Linked DNA regions of Homo sapiens: all the other regions are linked to region 2. Evidence: promoter capture Hi-C in 16 types of primary human blood cells and fetal thymus (Javierre and others, 2016). All regions are on one chromosome and are shown on one strand. Each heading gives the region's core, a stretch centred on a gene start or on the middle of the fragment in contact. The rest is flanking DNA. Distances are from core to core; before and after follow the strand shown.

What was found. The method cuts DNA at HindIII sites, captures the fragments that hold promoters and counts their contacts. A CHiCAGO score of 5 or more calls a contact.
Region 1: a contact is called between a fragment that was not itself captured here and the fragment with the promoter of PTPRK-AS1 in region 2, in 1 of 17 cell types (naive CD8 T cells). The highest score is 5.4, in naive CD8 T cells.
Region 3: a contact is called between a fragment that was not itself captured here and the fragment with the promoter of PTPRK-AS1 in region 2, in 1 of 17 cell types (non-activated CD4 T cells). The highest score is 5.4, in non-activated CD4 T cells.
Region 4: a fragment that was not itself captured here is called in contact with the fragment with the promoter of PTPRK-AS1 in region 2 in 4 of 17 cell types (fetal thymus, naive CD8 T cells, naive CD4 T cells and 1 more); the score reaches 10.9 in fetal thymus.
Region 5: a contact is called between a fragment that was not itself captured here and the fragment with the promoter of PTPRK-AS1 in region 2, in 3 of 17 cell types (naive CD8 T cells, non-activated CD4 T cells and total CD8 T cells). The highest score is 8.5, in naive CD8 T cells.
Region 6: a contact is called between a fragment that was not itself captured here and the fragment with the promoter of PTPRK-AS1 in region 2, in 2 of 17 cell types (fetal thymus and total CD4 T cells). The highest score is 6.7, in fetal thymus.
Region 7: a fragment that was not itself captured here is called in contact with the fragment with the promoter of PTPRK-AS1 in region 2 in 1 of 17 cell types (non-activated CD4 T cells); the score reaches 5.7 in non-activated CD4 T cells.

The regions. Positions count from the first base shown.
Region 1 is chr6:127,705,622-127,708,604 of GRCh38, reverse strand. It overlaps THEMIS (thymocyte selection associated), which reads left to right. Exons shown (of 6, transcript NM_001010923.3): 6 at 1-405. Among named protein-coding and RNA genes, the nearest start is that of LINC02536, 43 kb to the right of the region's middle. The HindIII fragment of the contact is 3,320 bases long and covers 1-2,983 here.
Region 2 is chr6:128,026,090-128,029,204 of GRCh38, reverse strand. PTPRK-AS1 (PTPRK antisense RNA 1) reads right to left here and starts at 1,340. Exons shown (of 5, transcript NR_125849.1): 1 at 1,282-1,340. All of the region lies in intron 13 of PTPRK (protein tyrosine phosphatase receptor type K), which reads left to right. The HindIII fragment of the contact is 8,791 bases long and covers 1-3,115 here.
Region 3 is chr6:128,331,125-128,333,954 of GRCh38, reverse strand. All of the region lies in intron 2 of PTPRK (protein tyrosine phosphatase receptor type K), which reads left to right. Among named protein-coding and RNA genes, the nearest start is that of PTPRK, 190 kb to the left of the region's middle. The HindIII fragment of the contact is 2,530 bases long and covers 86-2,615 here.
Region 4 is chr6:128,517,310-128,520,202 of GRCh38, reverse strand. The region is part of intron 1 of PTPRK (protein tyrosine phosphatase receptor type K); the gene reads left to right. Among named protein-coding and RNA genes, the nearest start is that of PTPRK, 1.8 kb to the left of the region's middle. RefSeq lists an enhancer at 1-430. The HindIII fragment of the contact is 2,326 bases long and covers 146-2,471 here.
Region 5 is chr6:127,742,049-127,745,061 of GRCh38, reverse strand. All of the region lies in intron 4 of THEMIS (thymocyte selection associated), which reads left to right. Among named protein-coding and RNA genes, the nearest start is that of LINC02536, 80 kb to the right of the region's middle. The HindIII fragment of the contact is 4,802 bases long and covers 1-3,013 here.
Region 6 is chr6:128,347,711-128,350,524 of GRCh38, reverse strand. The region is part of intron 2 of PTPRK (protein tyrosine phosphatase receptor type K); the gene reads left to right. Among named protein-coding and RNA genes, the nearest start is that of PTPRK, 170 kb to the left of the region's middle. The HindIII fragment of the contact is 3,565 bases long and covers 1-2,814 here.
Region 7 is chr6:128,307,941-128,310,827 of GRCh38, reverse strand. All of the region lies in intron 3 of PTPRK (protein tyrosine phosphatase receptor type K), which reads left to right. Among named protein-coding and RNA genes, the nearest start is that of PTPRK, 210 kb to the left of the region's middle. The HindIII fragment of the contact is 1,216 bases long and covers 771-1,986 here.

The sequences.
Region 1 (2,983 bases), core at 254-2,753, 320 kb after region 2:
GATAAGAACAGAAACTTTTCTAAGACCCACATTTGGTTATTGAAGGCCACAGCGAATCTTAACCTAACAGCCTTGACAAACTGCACCATAGGTGTTTTTAGACTCATATAATTTGTTATTTTTCAAACAATAGTGAATAATTAATATTTTTGTTTGGAATTTGAGAACAATTAAATTTGTACTTTTAGTAACTACCATTCTTTGATTAGAAAATTAAGAGAATGCATATCTTACTTTGGTTGTAAATTATCAAGGGCTTTCTAATAGAAATCATATATAACATTTCTAAATATAAGTCCTTTCACATACTGTGTTTCCAGTTGTCTTGATATTGAAAAGTGTAATAAACTTCATGCTCACCTATTGGAGATTTGGGAAGGTTGAAAATAAACTTCCTAATTTTTATTTGTATGTGTTCTCTTCTATGTTTAACTCTAGAATAACTATCTTCCTGTAACGATTAAGTTAAAATATTCTTTAACTAGAATTGAAATAAATTGTTCACTAAGGAGGGGGCTGCTTGTGCTAAAAAAGCCATGAGGAGGGAGATTGTCCTCCCTGCCCTCTCCATCCCCTATGGACTTACAGTGCTGAGCTCAGTCATAATGACCAAATTTCACAGCATGGCCAAGCTGCATAGATAGGTGCCAAAACTACCAATTATTAATATTGGCCTCTTCCTAATTGAATCAGTCAAGCAGTTTTGGAAAAGGCTGTCAGAAAGGAGTGAGAAATGGAAAGAGGAAAATGTGATTGTTGAGATGGGCTAGCTCAACTCTTACATCCAGGATTTTAATAGAAAAACTCTTTAAGATTAGAGTCAACATATAATGAGACTTTTAGGTGTTTAACCAAAGGTTCTTGGTTCAAGTTGCCTCTAAAAGGAAGATGATAACATGTAAAACGCTGGGGAGAGTCAGAATTAGGATCTAATTATAACCCCGGTAGGCTGGACTACTAAAAATGAAATCCAATAGAATAAAAATATTCTTTTGATTTTACCATGAAAATATTTCCACAACTATAACACTTCTGACTGCTTCTACTTCTACTGCTGTGGTCCAAACTTCAGTCATCTCTGTTGGATTATTGCAAAAACCCTGTAACAATTCTTCCTGTTCCTGCCCTTGCTACCTATCAATCTATTCTGATTGTGAGAACCAGAATGATCTCATTAAAATATGTGCTATTATTACACACCACAGTCATGTCCTACCTCATTCAGAGTAAAAGCCAAAATTCCTAAAATGATCTAGAAAGGTGTGCACAATACATTCCCATTCTCTCTCTGTACTCTTCCTATTCGTTTTGCTCAAGTCATGCTGACCTTCCCATTTGATATGGTTTGGATGTGTCCCCATCTAAATCTCGTCTTGAATTGTAGTTCCCATAATCCCCATGTGTCATGGGAGGGACCTGGTGGGAGGTAATTGAGTCATGGGGACAGTTTCCCCCATGCTGTTCCCCTGATAGTGAGTGAGTTCTCATGAGATCTGATGGCTTTTATAAAGGCTTTTTCCACTTTTGCTTGGCACTTCTTGCTGCCACCATGTGAAGAAGGACGTGTTTGCTTCCCCTTCTGCCATGATTATAAATTTCCTGAGGCCTCCCCAGCCATGCTGAACTGTGAGTCAATTAAACCTATTTCCTTTATAAATTACCCAGTCTTGGGTATACCTTTATTAGCAGTGTAAGAATGGACTAATACACCATTATTCATCAACCATGCCAGGGCTATTCCTACCCTGAGGCCTTTGCATTTGCTGTTCTCCCTGCCTGGAACACTTTTTGCTCTCCTCTCCACACAGGTCACTCCCTTACTTCCTTTAGGCTTTATCCACATATTACCTTCTCAATGTGCCTTGCTCTGGCCACCCTATCTCAAACTGTAACCTCAACTCTTATTGGTCTTTCTATCTCCTTCCCTGCCTTAATTTTCTCCATAATAGTTTATTCTATCTAACAAGCTATATCTTTTACATGTCTTGTTTCTTTTCTGTCTCCTTTACACTAGACTGTAAACCCCCTGAAGGCAGGATTTCTTATTGGTTTCTGCACTACACCCAGACACTTAGAATAGTGTCTGGCATATATCTGGCACTCAATATGTGTTTGCTGAATGAACTGATTAAAGTTAGGAATATGAGAACTCAAGCCAGACTGCCCAGGTCTGAATACTGACTCCCTGTTTACTGGGTTGCCTTGGATAAGTTTGTGAGCCTCCTTCTGCTTCAAATTCCTACATATATGTAAAATAGGGACTAAAATAGACTCTACATTGTAGAGTTGTTGTGATAATTTGATGAATGTATAGATGTAAAGTGCTTGGAGCTTTGTCTGAGAAAAAGTAAGTCCTCAATGCATTTATGTGTTTTTATTTTATAATATATATATGTTCTAAATTATATATAAAATATTACATCAAGGTTTTTTAGTTTTGGAGTCTTGCATCTTTTCTTCTTTGAGTTTTCTTTCTTTCCCACTTCCACTCTTATGTGCCATGACAAATACTCATCTAGTCCTTGTTATCTTAGCTCAGGTTCCCTAGAAGCACAGGTTAAGGGGGAAGATACTCGTTCAGTGGTTTATTGGAGTGTTCTTAGGAGAAATCTGTATGGAAGTGGAAGAAGTCAGCAGGATAGGAGAAGGATCTAGATAAATACATGGTTTCATAAGAACTCCAACCTAATCTTTCCAGCCTGATCCTAAGGGTACCCTGGAGCATGGATTATACTACTGTGTTGATCCCTCAGCTGAACCTTCAAAAATTTGTTCCAAATCCAAGAGGCCAGCAGGTTCCAAATTGTGTACCCTATGATACAACAAATGAGTCCCATAGGTATATCCCACTGTTGCATCTCCCTTGTGACAAATTGTGTCACCTGGTCTGAGATGATATTACACAGGATATCATGTTGGGAGAACAGAAATTCTGTGACCCCTCTGTGGCGGTGCTGGCTGAGGCACTGTGGAAAGGAAAAGT
Region 2 (3,115 bases), core at 91-2,590:
GGGAAGGTCCACACTCTTTAAACAACCAGATCTCACAAGAACACTCATTACTGTGAGGATGGCACCAAGGCATTCGTGAGAGAGCCAACCCCCAAAACCAAAAACCTCCCACCAAGTCCCATCTCCAGCATTGGGGAATACATCTCAGCATGAGATTTGGAGGGCACAAACACCCAAACTGTATCAGTTGATCAAGAACTGACCATGGAAGATGGATAGTTGAAGTCACAAGCAGTCCAGCACAATTCTAACCTTACCATGAATCTGAATTCTTAGCTCACTAAAGATTTAGGAACAGAATTGGGGAGTAGAATTATGGTCATGTAAAAATAGAGTCCGTTTAACATCCTAACCTTAAATCAGAAACCATCAAAGCATCATATCAACAAAAAAATTGTTTTCACTTATGAAAAATATGAATATTAACACAATTTTGTTGCACACTTACTCTCTGCCATATGTCTTACACTAGGCATTGAGAAAATACTAAAAATACATAGGATATGTTCCATGCTCTCAAGAAGTTGTGAATTGTGAAAGAACCTGATAGTTGAAGTAATAATTTCATGCAGTGTGCCTAAACATGAAATAGAATTCCATACAAAGTGACATTTAAATAGGTAGAAAAACCAGAGACCATATCCACACTGGTAACAGCATGGGCAGAGGTTTGCAGTTAGACATGAAAGTTAATGCAGTGTTCAAGAATATACTGAGGAGTTAGTAAGAAATTAGGCTAAAATGTATGTTGATACAGATATGAGAAAGGGCTGTAAGACTCAAGATTCACTTTATCTTGAGGGCAGGGTGGCAGCTATCAACAGTGCTAAAGCACTTTCTCTTCCACTTTAAAAATTAAAACAGTGTGGTAACCTTAAAAGGTGTTCTGAAACAATATTCTAAGCAACTGTTATCACTTTTGCTTTTTCCTTTTTTTTATCAGGTGCTTACTTAAACATTTCTCATAATTGCAAAGATTGTGACTTGTAATTATTTGTAGTTACTATTTTACCATGAGCTTTACCCACATTTTTATGTGTTTTAATTTTAAGTGGCTAAATATTATTATAAATAGTGTGTGCAGTATAATTTATATTCGTCATTTTCATTTTCCCTGAAATCTTTGTAGGCTATTAAGAAGAACAATGATAGGATCATATTTAAGTTTTAGAAAAATGACACCTTAAAAGCTGCAGGTAGATTAGGATGAGTAGGACTTGGAGTCAGAAACTTCAATAAGGGAGTGGCTGCAATATAGACTAGGAAAGAGGTGATACCAACCTGTCAGTGTCCTCATCGGTAAAAGAAGATACAGCTGGGCACAGTGGCTTATGCCTGTAATCCCAGCACTCTGGGAGGCCAAGGTGGGCGGATCACTTGAGGCCAGGAGTACGCACCAACTTGGCCAACAGAGTGAAACCCCGTCTCTACTAAAAACAAAAATTAGTCAGGCACAGTGGCACACGCCTGTAGTCCCAGCTACTCGGGTGGCTGAGGTAGGAGAATTGCTTGAACCCAGGAGAAGGTTGCAGTAACCTGAGATGGCTCCACTGCACTCCAGACTCGGTGACAGAGCAAGACTCTGTCTCAAAGGAAAAAAAAAACATACAACAAGCCTCATAAGTGCTTGTGAAAGCTAATTGAAATAATATATTAAAAGAGTTTGGCATTTAGAAAGCTCTGAAACGATCATTCATTTAACAGAGGAAGCTATGAACATTTTTTTTTTAAAGGTCAGTTTGACTTTTAGGCACCTGATTTCCTGAAGGACTCTTTGAACTCTTTGAATGTGGGTACTGTTTTATGCATTTTCATGTGATAACTAAACAGCCTGATTTACATTCTTGCCCAATATACGTATTTCTTCAAATAATGAACTAATGAATTCCCGGGCAATAAATACCTTTTGGTTAAATGGACAAACAGTTCTGTTCAGTGGGAAACATGCTAGTAGAGTCTGCTTTTAAAGGAATTGCTGTATGCAGTATTCTAAGAAATAATGAGGAAGTATTTTTACTTCAAAATACTTTGATCATAATATGATGATAGGTATTTTCTTCTCTTGCCTGTGAAAGTGTGTGTTAGGTATGTACATTATGGGGCCAAACTAGTGATTGTTGCTAATTAGGATATATGTGGCGCATTCTATCAAGAATCCCAGTTTTCTGGGCACTGTGAGCTGTAAGTCAAGTCATAAAAAGGAGTGAATTGTCTTTTTCATATATAGCACTGAAATTGACTGGAGTTAATTATTTAATGCCTACCTCCCCTACTAGACTACAGGCTGTGTCACACACCTCCCTCAGCATCTAGCACAGCAAATGGATTTAGTAATATTTATTGAATAGATTAAGAAATACAGAGTGAATAAAATAGGACACTGGTTGGAGTGTTGGGTCAACCACAATTTTGGTGTGATATATTCTACATATCACAGTGAGAAGGAAAATGATATAAAATGAATAATATCCTCCTTAAAGTACTATACAAAAAGAATACTTCTTATATTTTTTCAAGATGATGTAATCTTGTCAAATATATAATATGTTGCATGCCAGTGCTTTCTTAATCCTTAATAGTAATACCAGTAATTGTATATTAAGTTCCTGCTATGTGTCAAATACTTCTAGGTACTTTAAATGTATATTCAGTAATCTTCAGAACAAGCCTAGAGAGCAGAATTTAGTTATTTCATTGTAAAGATGAGAAAAGTGGGTCTCAAAAAAAGCAGATAACTTGTCCCAGATCACACAGTAGTTTTTCTTGGTACCTGGAGTGATTTTCATCCCTCTTTCAAATACAACCCTTTGGCTATTGGGAAGTAGCTATTACAACTGTATTTTTTCTTTAACTTGATGTAAGGGAAAGACCACTTTACACATATACAAATAGGAGAAAGTTTTGCCAGACCTTCTGCAGCTAGTATTTACATGAGTGAGTAGAGAATTGTAAGAGGTTCTGGTAGCAGTAAAAACAAATTACAAACAACGGAACATGAAGAGAAGATGTTGTCTACCAACATCTGTCAAATATGGCAGATGATCTTCTTTGTCTTATTTTGTTCAATACCACTCAATATCATCACTTAGGCCTCTCTCTCTTACTGTTTAGATCT
Region 3 (2,830 bases), core at 101-2,600, 300 kb before region 2:
ACCCTACGGTGGCCCTTTAATTATCAACTTAAAGGAATAACTGCAGGTCTCTCACTTTAAATCAAAAGCTAAAAATGATTAAGCTTAGTGAGGAAGGCATATCAAAGCTGAGATAGGCCAATAGCTGGGCCTCTTGTTCCTGTTAGCCAAGTTTCGAATGCAAAGGAAAAGTTCTTGAAGGAAATTGGAAGTGCTACTCCAGTGAACACCCAGATGATAAGAAAGTGAAACAGCCTTATTGCTGACAGGGAGAAAGTTTTAGTAGTCTGGATAGGAGATTAAACCAGCCACAGCATTCCCTTAAGCCAAAGCCTAATCCAGAGCAAGGCCCTCAACATTGAGGCAAGACCCTCTACTAGCAAAAAGATAATGACTTGCTGAAGGCTCAGATGATTGTTAGCATTTTTTTTAGCAATAAACTATTCTAAAATTAAGGTATATATTTTATATATCTTATATACCTTTTTTTTAGACATGATGCTATTGCACACTTAATGGACTACAGTATTGTATAAACATAACTTTAATATGCAGTGGGAAACAAAAAATAAAAATTTGGTACCTTCAGAAATAATGTGACTACCGAGTAGAATGTTTTGACTTTGAGAATATTCATTTACATAGAAATCATAGATGTGTTGTGCACTCATTCTCTTTAGACCTTCAGTTCTGGTCTTTAATGTTTAACAGTGTTGAAGTATATCCAGACAACAGGTGGGAATTGTTAGCATGATTTTTAGTCTTCAGGCAGTTTCCAGGGAATACAGGCCACACTACCTTCTCTTACCTTTAATTGTTCATTTCAATCTTGGATCTTTTGGAAAGGTGAGTGATGATTACAAAATTGGCCACAGGACAAAGCCTTTATTGCCTTTTGGGTCATGTTACTGATTATTTTCTCTTAAGTTGCTTTTCTTTTTAGCAGCTACTTCTCAAAACTTTTCACTACTATGTAACATAAAAGCTGTGCAGGTTGGATAGCTGTAGGAGAGTGCCATGATTTCAGAAATTGGAAAAATCTTAAAACAAGAGTTCTTAAACTTAGATCAATGAGTCCTTTGAAATTGTTGGTGAAGTAAGTGTGTGTGTTTCTTGGAGTGGGCGTTGAGGCAACAATACTTTAAATTTACTTCAGATTTCAAAGAAAGAGTGAGAGAGGGAGGGTTATAGAGGAATAGGAAGGATAAGACTGAGAAAGAGGCCTGACTCACTTTGGGATGAAAGGGATAGGTAGAGTTGTGAAGGGAAGGGTTAAGAAAGGTTATGAAGGTTAAGTGCCATTAAGTTGGAAGTTTTTAAGTGTACCACCCTTTAACATTGTCATCTCATTTTTAAACTTCGAAAGTATTCTCTTCATACATTTTCTAGTTTTATTTTCTTTACTGTTTGGTGGAAGAAGGAATGAGTACGTCTAAAGGAACAAGTATTGAAGACCCATCTATTCCTCTCGTCAGTGTGCCTTCGCACATCATGGAGGTAGTCTCATTTAGTCCTCACACCGGACCTCAGTGGGGTGGGCACTTCAAGATGAGGAAACAAGACAGAGAGGGGTTAAATTATTTGCCCAGGATAAACAAGTAAATAGATGTGTAGGAAGTAGGGAAAATTGGAGTCCTGGAAGGTACTGGAAAGGAAATCAAAACCTATTATAAAATTAGCCACTTTTAAATAGGAAACAGATGGCACTAATCCTTTTAACTATTTATGACATAGGTTTCCTATGTCATAAAGATGAAACTGGAAATTTTGTTCGTCAAAGTAATGGCCAAGTACTTGTTTTTTGTCTCCTTAAGATGTAGTAGGGGAAGGGGATTAAACTATAAAACAATGCTTGGCCAGGTTTCTAAATCTTAATGTGTAGTGTAGCGGGTAAATTCCATGAGGACACCCACTTCCTAAGAAGGAGAAATTTGCTACTTTCTACTGAAACTTTCATTTTAGTTTTTTTGTGTTGCCTGAAGGTTTTTAGAAGCTATTATCTTAAATCCATACATTTTTCTATTTTCAAATGTAAACTGGCTACCTAGAACAAATACAAAGCACTTCCTCAGAGATCAAGAGAAATTTTGTCATTCGGACTGTGAAGGAAACAGGTTTATATTTTTACAAGGCAATGGGAGGGACATGTCACGGATACTAAAGTTGTTGGAAGTAGACTCCTGCAAAGATGCAAATTCAGTTAATTTGAAGTTTGGGGGACAAGTTTACTTTTTCTAACTTTTTCTGACATTTTGTAATATTTGCCTCATACTGTCTTAGAAACAAACTGTATGATGTAGGGGATAGACCTCATTAGAAGAGAAGCATCCATCTTAAGAAGTAATAGAATGTAAAAGCTCGAAGAATTAAAACTAGACTGTACAAAAAGTGATGGCACTGATGTCCGTCTAACCAAATTAATGGAGTATTTTAGGGTTATTCTCAAGATTGAAAATTTTGCTTATTATCATTTCAAATTTTACTCTTTTTTTTTCTCTTTGACTATCTTTGAAAAAAAAACAATACTTAAAAAAATATTTTTGCTTACCTTCAGTGGAGCTTGCCAAGTTTACAGGTTACACAGTCCCTCTGTTAGGGGCTGGCGAGGCCAAAGAGGTTTCTAATCTTAAAAAGCTTGCACTAGGGTTTTGGGGATGCACAGACAGATATGGTATATTTTGTACATAAAAGAGCATTATGTAAGTGCTATGGGAATGCAGGGCAGGAAACACAAATAGATAGTTGTCCGACTTTTTTATAAAACATCCAACTTCAAACTGAATACTCCAGACCTTGTTCTAGATTTTTGGATGAACAACATACATGAAATCCCAACTTTTCATGGAGTTTT
Region 4 (2,893 bases), core at 59-2,558, 490 kb before region 2:
TGAGCCAGGTCCCCGCTAGGGCTGGGGACAAGGATCGTGGGGAGCTCTCTCTGTCCGGGGGTGGGGAACACAGGGTAGAGGGAGGGCTGTCCCCAGAGTTCGTGCCAGGTGGGACGCGGGGCACCCATTGTTCCTCTCCGAAGCTTGCTCGGGGCTCAGGCTGGCACGGTCTAGCCGGAGAGTGTGGGGACCTGCTGGCTTCGGCGTCTCGCGTGGCCTGCGCCGGGCTAGTGGGGAAGAGAGAAAGAAAAAGTAGTTACGACTCCCGTGACGGCACTCTGTTGCTTGTGGTGCGGGTTTGTTGCTGTCTGCCACTTGGGTGTTTAAACAAATTCCCTGGGAAGCCATTGTCAGAAATGTGGAGATTCGAAGGGACTGACCTCGGCGCGCTTTGCCAGGTGCTTTTTGTCCCGGGAATAACCTCCCCTGACTATTGTCTAACTACTTCCCCGTCCCTCCCGGAGTCCCCTTTTCTCCTCCCCCAGCTCTGGGTTGCTCCCGGGCTTGCCCTGTGCGCTCGGGCACTGCTTGGAGCATGTTCTGTGTGTGTGTTGGCGGAGCCCTGTAAGATGTGTTGAAATGCGGTTCTAAGGACCCACTCTGAGCGTTCATGGGCATCGAGGTCTGGGCGCCTGGTGGAGGAAGCCTGACTCGCGCGTGGGAGCCCGCTCCTCGGGCAAAACCACCGCCAGGCTGGCCCCGCGCTCCCCGGATCCGGCCTGGGGCTCTGGCCCCGCGCTCCCCGGATCCGGCCTGGGGCTGGAAGCGGACTGTAAATGTCTGCCTTCTGCCGGAGAACCCAAAAGGAGACAAGTGGAGCGTCTCGCTGTAGCCCTGGGGGTTCTCGGTCAAGCCGCTCAGAGAAGTCCGTGAACCCTGGCTCTCCCGGTCCCGCCCTCTGTTCCCCTCCAGTTTTGTTATCCTTCGTGTAGGTTGGTTGCTTCTTTCGTTCTCTCCTCTGGGGGCTCTGAAGTTTCACCAGGTGGACGCTGGGGAGCGGGCTCCCGAGCACTTGTCTACCTCCCGCCAGTCCTGACAACTTTTCTGGCCAACCTACCCAGCTTCGCTTGGCTGGCGAGCGCATCTGCTGCTGGGGTTCGCGGTGCAGATGGAGACGCAGTGGTGGCCAGAGGGTGATGGAGAAGACGGGAAAAGCGACAGCCACGCTCCTGGCTGAAGCCGCAGGACGCAAATAACTTACTTTGTACCTGACAGTTTCTCACGTTGTTGTGGAGGCCCTGTTTCCTGGAAATAAACTCAAATTGTTGTTTTCTGGAGTAATCGTTTATTTCCCTTCCATTGCTCTCCTACCCCCGCCCCATTTAGAACTCTGTAAAGGGAGTTAAACAACAGATTCAGGTGGCAGCATGTGTCGTACATTCAGGCAGAGATTATGAAATGGCAGCACGCAGAGGAAAAGCCCTGTATATAATTGATGTACGCAGAGGGTAACAGCTCTATGCAAAAAATAATCCAATGGTTTAATTGAATTCTTTCTGGAGTAAGCATTACTGCATGCATTTCTGACATATAATGCCCGTTAGCATTGAAACCGTGCTTGATGTAACTCATTATATGCAGGCAAGTTGGAGTGAGTATTGATTTCTGCACAGTGTTTGTCACTGCACGGAGAGCCTACGCTTGAAAAGGCTTGTAGTTTGTTAATTGAAAGTTTGAACTCTACCAGTTGCATAATTAAACTTACATGTATTCAAGAGTTGCAACTATTAATGTCTCAACAGCGATGGATATATTTTCAGCAGTTAGAAAACTTTTTCTCTTTTTAAATGTTATTTACCCTTTAATTAACAAATAAATACTACTTTTCCTCCAGCTGAATGTGAAAATGAGCTTTTCTGATACCTGGAGTTTAGATACGTACAATAAACAATTGTGTTCTTAGATATCTAGTTCTAAGTACTTTAACTAAATATGCCTGGCTTTTCTTTAGTGACAAAGCATAACATTTGACATGATGTTGTATATTTAATTAATATAATGTGCATTCCTAAAAAGTACAGTAATCACAGGATTGCATCTCAAGATTTTGCCCTTTAGGAATGTATGCCCAGAAATGAATGTCTTTTATTCCCAGAGTTTAAAGTCAGATTGTGGATTTGCCTTTCTCCACAAATTATAAGTTTGTTTTGTAAATACTTCCTTTTTTTTCTGGCTACCATAAATCATTTGATATTTTATTGTCATAAAATTCTATGGCAGTCAGATTTGTTGCAGACATAGATTAGAGATGTATTGAAGATTGGAGGTGTATTCCATATTGCTGGTTTTTCTTATATTTTACTTTAACTAGTGAACTTTTATTCCTTTTGAGAAATTTAAATAAACCCACTTTAAAAGTCCAAGACAAATTCATGTTGAGAATTTAAAAATATCTGAAGTATGTCTTTCAAATCATACTCATTAAGATCAGTTTACTTTCCGATATCATGTGGTTCCTAATGTAGTAAGCTTCAAAAGCAAATTTTGAAAGGCTGAGCATTGTTGGGACTTTGATGTGTCATATACTTATTCAGTTTTCTTTGTTTAAACCAAAAATGTAAGAGTGTTTTCATTATTGTGACTTTTTTCTTAGCTTTTGCAGTTAAAGTGTAAAACTGCTGCACTGTGAGCCTCTTTAAAACCAGAACGTTCTGTAAATCCCAACTCATACATTCTTTCAGTTTCACCTCTCACTTAAAATGACACCCATGTCATATCTGAGGAAACCGAGGCATAGAAGAATAAAGAAGTATTAAAGTTTATTCACTGGGTTGTATAGCTGTGATCTCTTGATATAATGTAAGAAAGTTTTCTGTAGAAGGACTTAGATGACTGACGAAACCAGATGCAGGTAAGGTGACTTGGAAACTCAGCTTTCTCCTCTGTAAAATGG
Region 5 (3,013 bases), core at 207-2,706, 280 kb after region 2:
TCCATTGTTTCATTTCTTTTTTCTTTTGGCAACTTTTTTGAGATATAATTGATATACAATAAAACTGTACATATTTAAGGTATACCATTTGAAGAGTCTGGATATACATAAGTAAACACCCTTGATATTACAATTATATCTCAATCAAGGTGATAAACATATTCATCACCTCCAAAAGTCTCCTTGAATCTTTTTGCTAATGTGTGTGTGTGTGTGTGTATGTGTGTGTAAGTACACTTGACATGGGATCTACCCTTTTAAATCTGTAAATGCACAGGATTGTATCGTTAACCACAGGCACTATATTGTAGAGCATATATCTATAATTTACCCATCTTGCATGACTGTAACTTTATATTCATTGAACAAGAACACCTCATGTCTCCTCTTATCCCCTTGCAATCAGTATTCTTTTTCTTGTTTTCACAAGTTTGACCATTTTAGATACCTCATGTAAGTGGAATCATGCAGTATTTGTCCTTCTGTGACTGACTTATTTCATTAAGTGTGATGCCTTCCAGGTCCATCCATGTTGTCACAAATGATAAGATTTCCTTCTTTTTAAAGGCTGAATAATATTTCATTGTATGAATATATCCCATTTTCTTTCTTAATTCTTCTGTCGATGGACATATGGATTGTCCCCCAATCTGACTATTGTGAATAATGCTGCAATGAACATGGAAGTGCAGATGTCACTGTTAGTCTTCACTCATTATTTTCAATTGTACATTTCTTGGAGGTGATGCAGTATGAAGAGCCTGGGGGTAACATAAGGATATTAAGAGAGGCTGAGGAATTGACAGAGACAAAATGATCAAGAAGAGACTATAAAAGACACATGTTGTTTCCACCAAAAATTTCCAAAGAATAAACCCCTCTTTAACATCCTGAACAAAGTGGCCAGACTCTGGTAAACCCAATAAAGACAGTTGAAGATTCTGCAACTCACTGGAGAATAATTTCCTGGTGCAGTCAATAAACAGTCTGTTCTAGGGTCAACACTGATCCTTGTACCTGATACCAGATGTTGAAAATTTGGTCAACATTTATTCAATACTTAATAAAAGTCTTATTTCCAGATTTCAGTTTTTTGTCTTTACTATCTACTTTTCCTAGACAAAAAACATTTTAAAGGATAATATATTTTATTGTTCAAAGTAAAATTAGTGAGTCGCACTTTAACCTAGGGAAATACCTGTAGTCATAACATGGAAATGACTAGAAAAACAGACTTGCTTTTTACTATTTATATATTGTATTCAACAGAAATAATTCCTAATAAATGATTCGCATTTATGATGCATTGTGTACCTCAGGAATTTGGGATAAGATTTATAAAAGAATTTGTTTTAATCATCATCCTTTTCATCATCACACATATGTGAAGCAGCCTGGGGGCACAATAAGATGTCTATAGTTTTGTTTGAATTCAGCATCTGCCTGCAAAGCTAATACCATAGCAACTAAAAAACCACTTGTACATTTTTCTTAAAAGACTCTATCCTAAGAAACCCTTTATACTCCCATTACATTTAAGGACTGAATGGTGTATCCTCTGAACATCACCATTCTGTCTTACTCTTTTTCCAGAGATCTCATTCTCTTACTCCCCTTAAACACCAGTCATATTTCTAAATGAACTTTCTCCCTTCATTTCATTCACATCTGTAAATTTCTGAATGTCAAGCAGACTTTTTCATTTAACTTGGCTTTGCGTGGGAGAAAAATTGAGGGTGATGGCATTTTCCTAGGCTTAGGCTTCGTATCTGGCATGTTTTATGCCCAGAAGAGTAGCAGTCAAGTGATAAAATTAAGGGGCTCTAATGCAAAACCATCACTGTATCTGAGATATCATTATTTTAACCTGGACAAGACAGTCACCTAGTGATGTTTTTGCCTTTTGGTGTTCTTTGGACCAATTTCTTATTAGGTTGCTTGCCCTTCTCAGGAGAATAGCCCATTTTCTCTCTCACCTTTCTTTAATGAATCACCTTTTATGTGCTATATATTATTTCTAAAATAATTTATTCTTCTATATGTTGGTCTTTTTAATAAATGATTTTTGCAAAATCCAAGAAGGAATATTCTTCATATTCTTTTTTATTCATGGTAAAATATACATAATACAAATTTCTACCATTTTAACAATATTTAAAGGTATACAGTTACAGTGTATTAAGGCCATTCACATTGTTATGGAACCATCACCACCATCTCCATCTCCAGAACATTTTTATCTTCCCAAACTAAAATCTGTACCCCTTAAATAATAACTTTTTATTTCTCCCCCACCCCCAGCCCCTGACAACCACCATTCTACTTTCCATCTCTATGAATTTGACTACTCTAGGTATCTCATGTAAGTGACATCATAACAATCTTTGACCTTTTGTGTCTGGTGTATTTCACTTACTATAATGTCTTTAGGGTTCATTCATGTTGTAGCATGTGTTAGAATTACTTTCCTTTTTAAGTCTGAATAATATCCCATTGTATCTATGTAAAATATTTTGTTTATCCATTCATCCATGAATGGTCATTTGGGTTGCTTCCACATTTTAGCTGTTGTGAATAATACTACTGTGAACATTAGTTACAAATATCTGTTAGAGTCTCTGCTTTTAGGTTTTTTTTAAATATACATAAGCAGAAGCAGAGTTACTACATCATTTGGTGATTCTATCTTTGTTTTGTTTTGTTTTTTTGTTTTTTTGTTTGTTTTTTTGTTTGTTTTTTTTTTTTTTTAAGCAGAGTCTCACTCTGTCACTCAGGCTGGAGTGCAGTGGCATGATCTCCGCTCACTGCAACCTCTGCCTCCTGGGTTCAAGTGATTCTCTTGCCTCAGCCTCCCAAGTAGCTGGGACTACAGGCACACACCACCATGCCCAGCTAATCTTTTTGCATTTTTTGATAGAGACGGGGTTTCACCATGTTGGCCAGGCTGTCCTCAAAACTCCTGACATCAGGTGATCTGCCTACCTCAGCCTCTCAAATTGCTGGGATTACAGGT
Region 6 (2,814 bases), core at 274-2,773, 320 kb before region 2:
ATACTCATTACTGGATTCTATCAGTGGTCGTTGGATTGATGAATACCTTTCTGTGCACTGCCTCTACCTTCTGTTTTCTTTTCCTTTTTCCTTTAAGGGCATTTGATGCTGTTGATAAGTCTCCTGTTCTTGAATTTTAACAAAATTACCTTCCTCTACTTCTACTTTTGCACTCCAACATATATAATACCTGCTGATTGCTTCTTACAAAACACTGAAGGCTTTAAAATTAAGAACACTTTTATATCTGACCCTGATTGCTACCTTTAATACTTTCTACCTTGCTGTGAGCTAGCCCATGGGTGCCCTGTAAAAATCTAGTGTCTTTGATCCTCCAACTCCTTTTTCTGGCCTGTTATTTCTGGCTCCCATCCTGCTATTTGGAGTTTTTATTTCTCCCCTTCTGCCATCCCCATCAAGTGAATGCATGTATCAGTCCATAGACATGGACTTAGTACATAGTTTTCTTAGTACATGATTGCCTCTCAGTGCTGCTCCACATTCTAAAACTAGTGGGTGGATTGCCCATATGTGCTATTCTTCCCGGGACAGTAATGGTTCATACCTGTAGCCTGGGAATATTTATTAATAGTGCCCTGTTTCTCTGTGCAAAACTCTGTGTTTTGCTTTGGAGGAAGACTTATGTGGTCACCTGACCCATAAGTCTCCTATAATCATTAAAGAGTTTCCACAGTTGGCAACCTTGCCCAAATCCCAATGCTTAAATAGATTTTAAATGCTTAAAATTTCCTTATTACCCAAGTAAAACAGAACAAATAGACTATAACGCCTATACCCTTTCAACAGCACTTCTTTTCATCAAAATTTTTCATGTATTTTACAAATAAAGCCTATGACACAATGATTTTTTTATTCTTTTTTTTTTGAACGGTGTGAATATGTTTCTGTCTTTCTCTCCCTTATAACAGAATCAGCTTCTGAGGATATGCTGGCTTGTTTTTTAACTAAGGTGGTAAAACAGCAGCAGCTCTTTACCTAAAATATTGCAGTGGGCACCTCTCACCTCACATTTCATTTGTTCAATTATTTATATTTGGTACAATAAAAGAGAAGATAAGGCAGAGATCATGAAAGCATTAAACTACAATGAATTTCTGTATTTTCCTGTTGATATAATCTCTCATTCATCTGCAATTGTACATTCAATTATAAACCACTATCCAGGGAGATTTAGTTCTTGAAAAAAATCTACTAGGGAATATTTATGGGCAAATATATTTCAGTGTTTTATTTCCTGCTTACACTTGATTAAATGAATATGCAGAAGAGGTGTGAGGAATGGTAACACTCCATGATTTTAGGTTTGCTATAGTTTATTTTCCATTGCTCTAGGTTGACAGTGAAGTGTTGTTCATGTTTCTGGACATCAGATTTGAGTTCTTTAGGTTTCTCTTGGGAATTTTGTCTTATGCCTTATTCATACTTCTTTTCATGATTTTACCTTCATTTCTTTCTTTTCTGGTAATTGCCTTCTTATGTGGAATAAGGGAGGGCAAGTATAGTATGGAAATCTCTGTTTGCAAAAGCCCTTAGCAATTACTAACATTCTTAGATAGGTGGATTTTTATTCGCTTTCTTATTTAATAAGGACACAGTCATTTCTATGCTGTGGTGCCTACATATTTTTATTCATCAGTAGCCAAATTAGTGATTATTTTTCTTATCAGTGTTCAACAGGAAGTTTGATTTACTCCACCTCCAATTTAGAAGTTAAACAAATTGTTATAGAGCTTTCAGGTTTTCATACATATCTTATTAAAGAAATAGCTAAAAATACTTAATAAGTAACTGAAAAGTAATTCTCTTCAATTCGACCATTATATTGGATTATATTTCCAGTAAAACTTCTCAAAGAATGGAAATAGGGAAAAATAAAAATCGATCATACATTTGTTAACAAACTAAAATATTTCAGTTTACAAAAGGAAACGGATTGTCATTCTTACAGAAAATTTTGTAAACTTATGGCTTTAATATTCACCATGAATAAAATACAATAAACATAGTTTTTAAGTACAAATATATTTTAAAGATTTGGGGAAGGGTTTTTGTTATGTTAATATAATGAAAAGAAATTATTTTAATATATCTAACAACCATTTTATTTGCAAGTGAAAGACACTTTTTTATTGGACTAGAGATGGTGGATACTGAGTTCAAAACTTCATCTAGTAGTCTCCATCTGGATTTGACTAAAATAGCTTCTTTTTGGCAGAATTTTACATTTTGGGTCTTTGCTTAATCAGATTTGTTTCTTAATATTGCGTTCTTTCATATACTGAATTGATTAATTGGAAAATTTATTTGTGTTTTATATAAATAAGTATGTACTTGGAAATAATGTAGCCTCATTTCATGTTTCTGTAATAATAATGCTATAATGACTCTTGAATATTTTTATTCTCCACAGCTTTTTATAAAAGTATATGTGTTGTGTCAAAGCTACAATAGATGATCTGTACTTGAAAGCCATATCTTAACTTTTTTTGTCATATCCTTGGGGTAACTGACATAGTCTAATTCCCATAGGTATTGTATTTCTGATAAAGCAAGATTTCAAGAACTTAGAATAAACTTTATGAACAAAAATAAAATCGACGTATTAATGTTGCTATTTTATGGAATATTATGATGGTTGCACTTTTAAATTTTAATTACAACGTAGAGATCGGAGTGTTATAAATAAATAAAATGTGGGAAATTTTTAGATTTCTTAAAAAGTTTATTTCCTGATAATGTAACTTAGTAGCTCAGTTTGTAGTGGGTTGGATATTAATGTATTTCTCTCTTTTA
Region 7 (2,887 bases), core at 129-2,628, 280 kb before region 2:
CATAGAAGGGCATGCTACTCCCCAAGATCTCCTGGAGAATAAAGTGGGTTGCTGTTCACAAATGGACCTGCTGGTTTTAATGCAGCCCAGTTAATAAATGGCATTCACTCAGCATACAGCCAAGAGTACTCCATTGATTGGCAGCAGGAAGCTCCTTGTTCATGTTGAGAGTTCCTTTTTGCGGTGCCACTTGCCTCTGAGAATTGTCAGTGGGCTGCCTTCACAGTGCAGCAAAAGGTCCTTTCTGCTTTTTCATTGCCATTTGCTTCCCAGTTTGGAGCCAGTTGAGTTATTTAGCTATGGGCCTGAGTTGTGTAAGGTACAGCATTTTTAAATGAGTTTGTTTTTGTGTCTTCCTTGTTCGGAGTTTTTTGTTTGTTTGTTTTTTTGGAAAAACATCCAGCAAAGGATACGGAAGGCAACGTTATCCTGTGCTTCTTAGTTATCACTATGCTAACTGAAATTCAGTGGACTACCCTTGTCAAGAGGTTATGCCGTATATTGAGTTTCAGCCTTGGGTCTCACTCTAGTTCAGAGAGAGCTCATGTTACAGAAACAATCCTCTCACCTCAGCCAATAAATCCTAACAAATCATCTCTACACCCAGTGAGACCATGTATATCTATCAGCTATCTTATGGAGTGACCAGAAATCAGAGAGAAAGAAGGCACAATCTACTTCCCCTGTTATCCAAGTAAAAGCTTAGTCATCTATAACTAACTTAATAAAGCATGTGCTTGTTGGGTAAAGACAGAGTAGCTCACTAAGCTTAGAAAAGAAAGATAAGAGAAAGGCTATTCATTGTCTAGTACCTTTGCATTTCTGATTAGCCTGCATATAAGTGGATGGCATTTTTTTTGTAGGCACCGAGACTGGAACTTTCCATATTATTTTTCAATCTTATTACCTCTACTAGAAAGACAGTGGATAAGGGAGATTACTTAAACCATTTTTTGTGATCATATTGTTGGGAGGGAGTGAACTGGTACCAGGGAGAATTGGAAATTTTCTATAAAAATGGTGTTAATTTATTAGCCATGAGAAGGAGAAATAAAAAAAATCAGAATATCTTAATTCAGAGGGAATGGTTTGGAAAATATGAATTAGAATGACATTTGTACTTCTTATTACAAGCTGGCCACACAACATTTTTTAATTCTTAAGTTTTTTTAAGGTTCTCTCCTTCCATAATATAAAACAAAGAGGCTGATGAGAAGTTATTTCAGCTGCTGAGGTAACAGACTTTGACGGCAGTAACTCCAGTGTGGGGAGGTCAGCAAGCTGCTTTATGTAGCAGCTACCACACTTCAGCATAGCCATTGCCTTGTGTAGGGTCCGAACGTTGGTTGCAGACCAGGACTCCTGCATCTGGTCTGTAATGATTTCCTACTCTCTAGATGATCTGAATTGATTTCTGATTACTCCTGGACTCTAGGCTCCCCCACCCCTCTCTGCCATCAGCTTTGTTCCAGGAAGCCCCATTTATACCCTAACTTTCACTTCCCACTCCTCTTCCAAGAGGAACCATGTCCCTATTAGGAAAAGATTTTGTCCTTGCACCAGGGGTTAAGAGAATTGAGAGTAGGAGAGGTGATGTCTGTACCATGTCTTTTAGTTGGTCTCAGTTTTTAAAAAGGTCTAGTGAATGCTCAGTTGGATTAGACTGTGTGGTAAGTGAAAAAAGAATGAAAAATATTAAATCTTTGAATTAAGAAGTTGTTCTCTAGCAGGGTTGTAATTGATAACCTATTGACTTGACTGTTGAGTGGTGAGACATTTAATATAGAGAATGGCAACCCTATCATTTTTTAGTGCCCAAGATTATAATATTATTTATTTAAAAGTGACATGTAACCTTAACAATGATCTGCCTTCTCCTGAATCTTTGATTCTTTTCTCCAGGCCTACTCCGGTGTACACCACGTGTCCACTGATGCCTACCTGTCTCTTTGCAAATATGTAAAGGTTTCATTCAGCTGCAAAGCTTGGCGAAAGTTTATGAAACTTAAGAAGAATTGATGTACAGAAGGACAGTGAAAAACTTTGCCCTGTCTTTCTGGACATATGTTCTTCATAGCTGGACTTCGTAGGGTGGTTTTTACTTAATGCCTCTAGTTCCTTTCAAATTGTCTCATAACTTGTAACTTGGTTGCTATTCCTTTCATGCGTCGAAAATTGCTGTCTTCTGATGAGATATCTCTGACTTTTCCCAAGTCCTTATTCCCGTTGACTTCCATGTAATATTTGAGATTATTGGACTCTCCTTCCTTCCTTAGATATAAAAGCCTATACTATCCTTTATTTTTTGGTAAACTTTTTTGATCGTTTTTTCTTTTTTCACCTTTTTAAAAAAAATTCCTCTAAATGCAAGCAGTTCGTGTATTTAATTTTCTTTTATTAATATTTATTTTTGGTGAAATATTTTATACATGACTAATCAGGAAATATAAATAATAATAATATATGTATGTTTTATGGAAATCGACTTAATCTTACCAGTACTTCCTAAAAGTTTCTCTCTATTAATCACTTTCCTTCTATCCTAAGGAATGTAGTATTTTGAATTTTTTGTTCATCATTTTGTTTCTTTTTTCTTTAATTTACTTTAAACAAATATTTTGTTTTATACAGTTAACAAATGTTTTATAAATGGTATCATGATTTGTATATTTTTTGGCTACTCGATTTTTTTTTCCCAGTCAATATCCAGGTTTATGTAGTGGTAATCATTTTTTTCAGTGTTGTATAGCATTCTATTTTTGAATAAGCTGAAATTGATTATTCAGTCATTTGTCTATGGATAGTTGGGTTGTTTTCTGGTTTTCTAGTGGTAATATTTTTAAAAATGTTGTTATGAGCATTCATGTACATGTGTATGATATTGCTA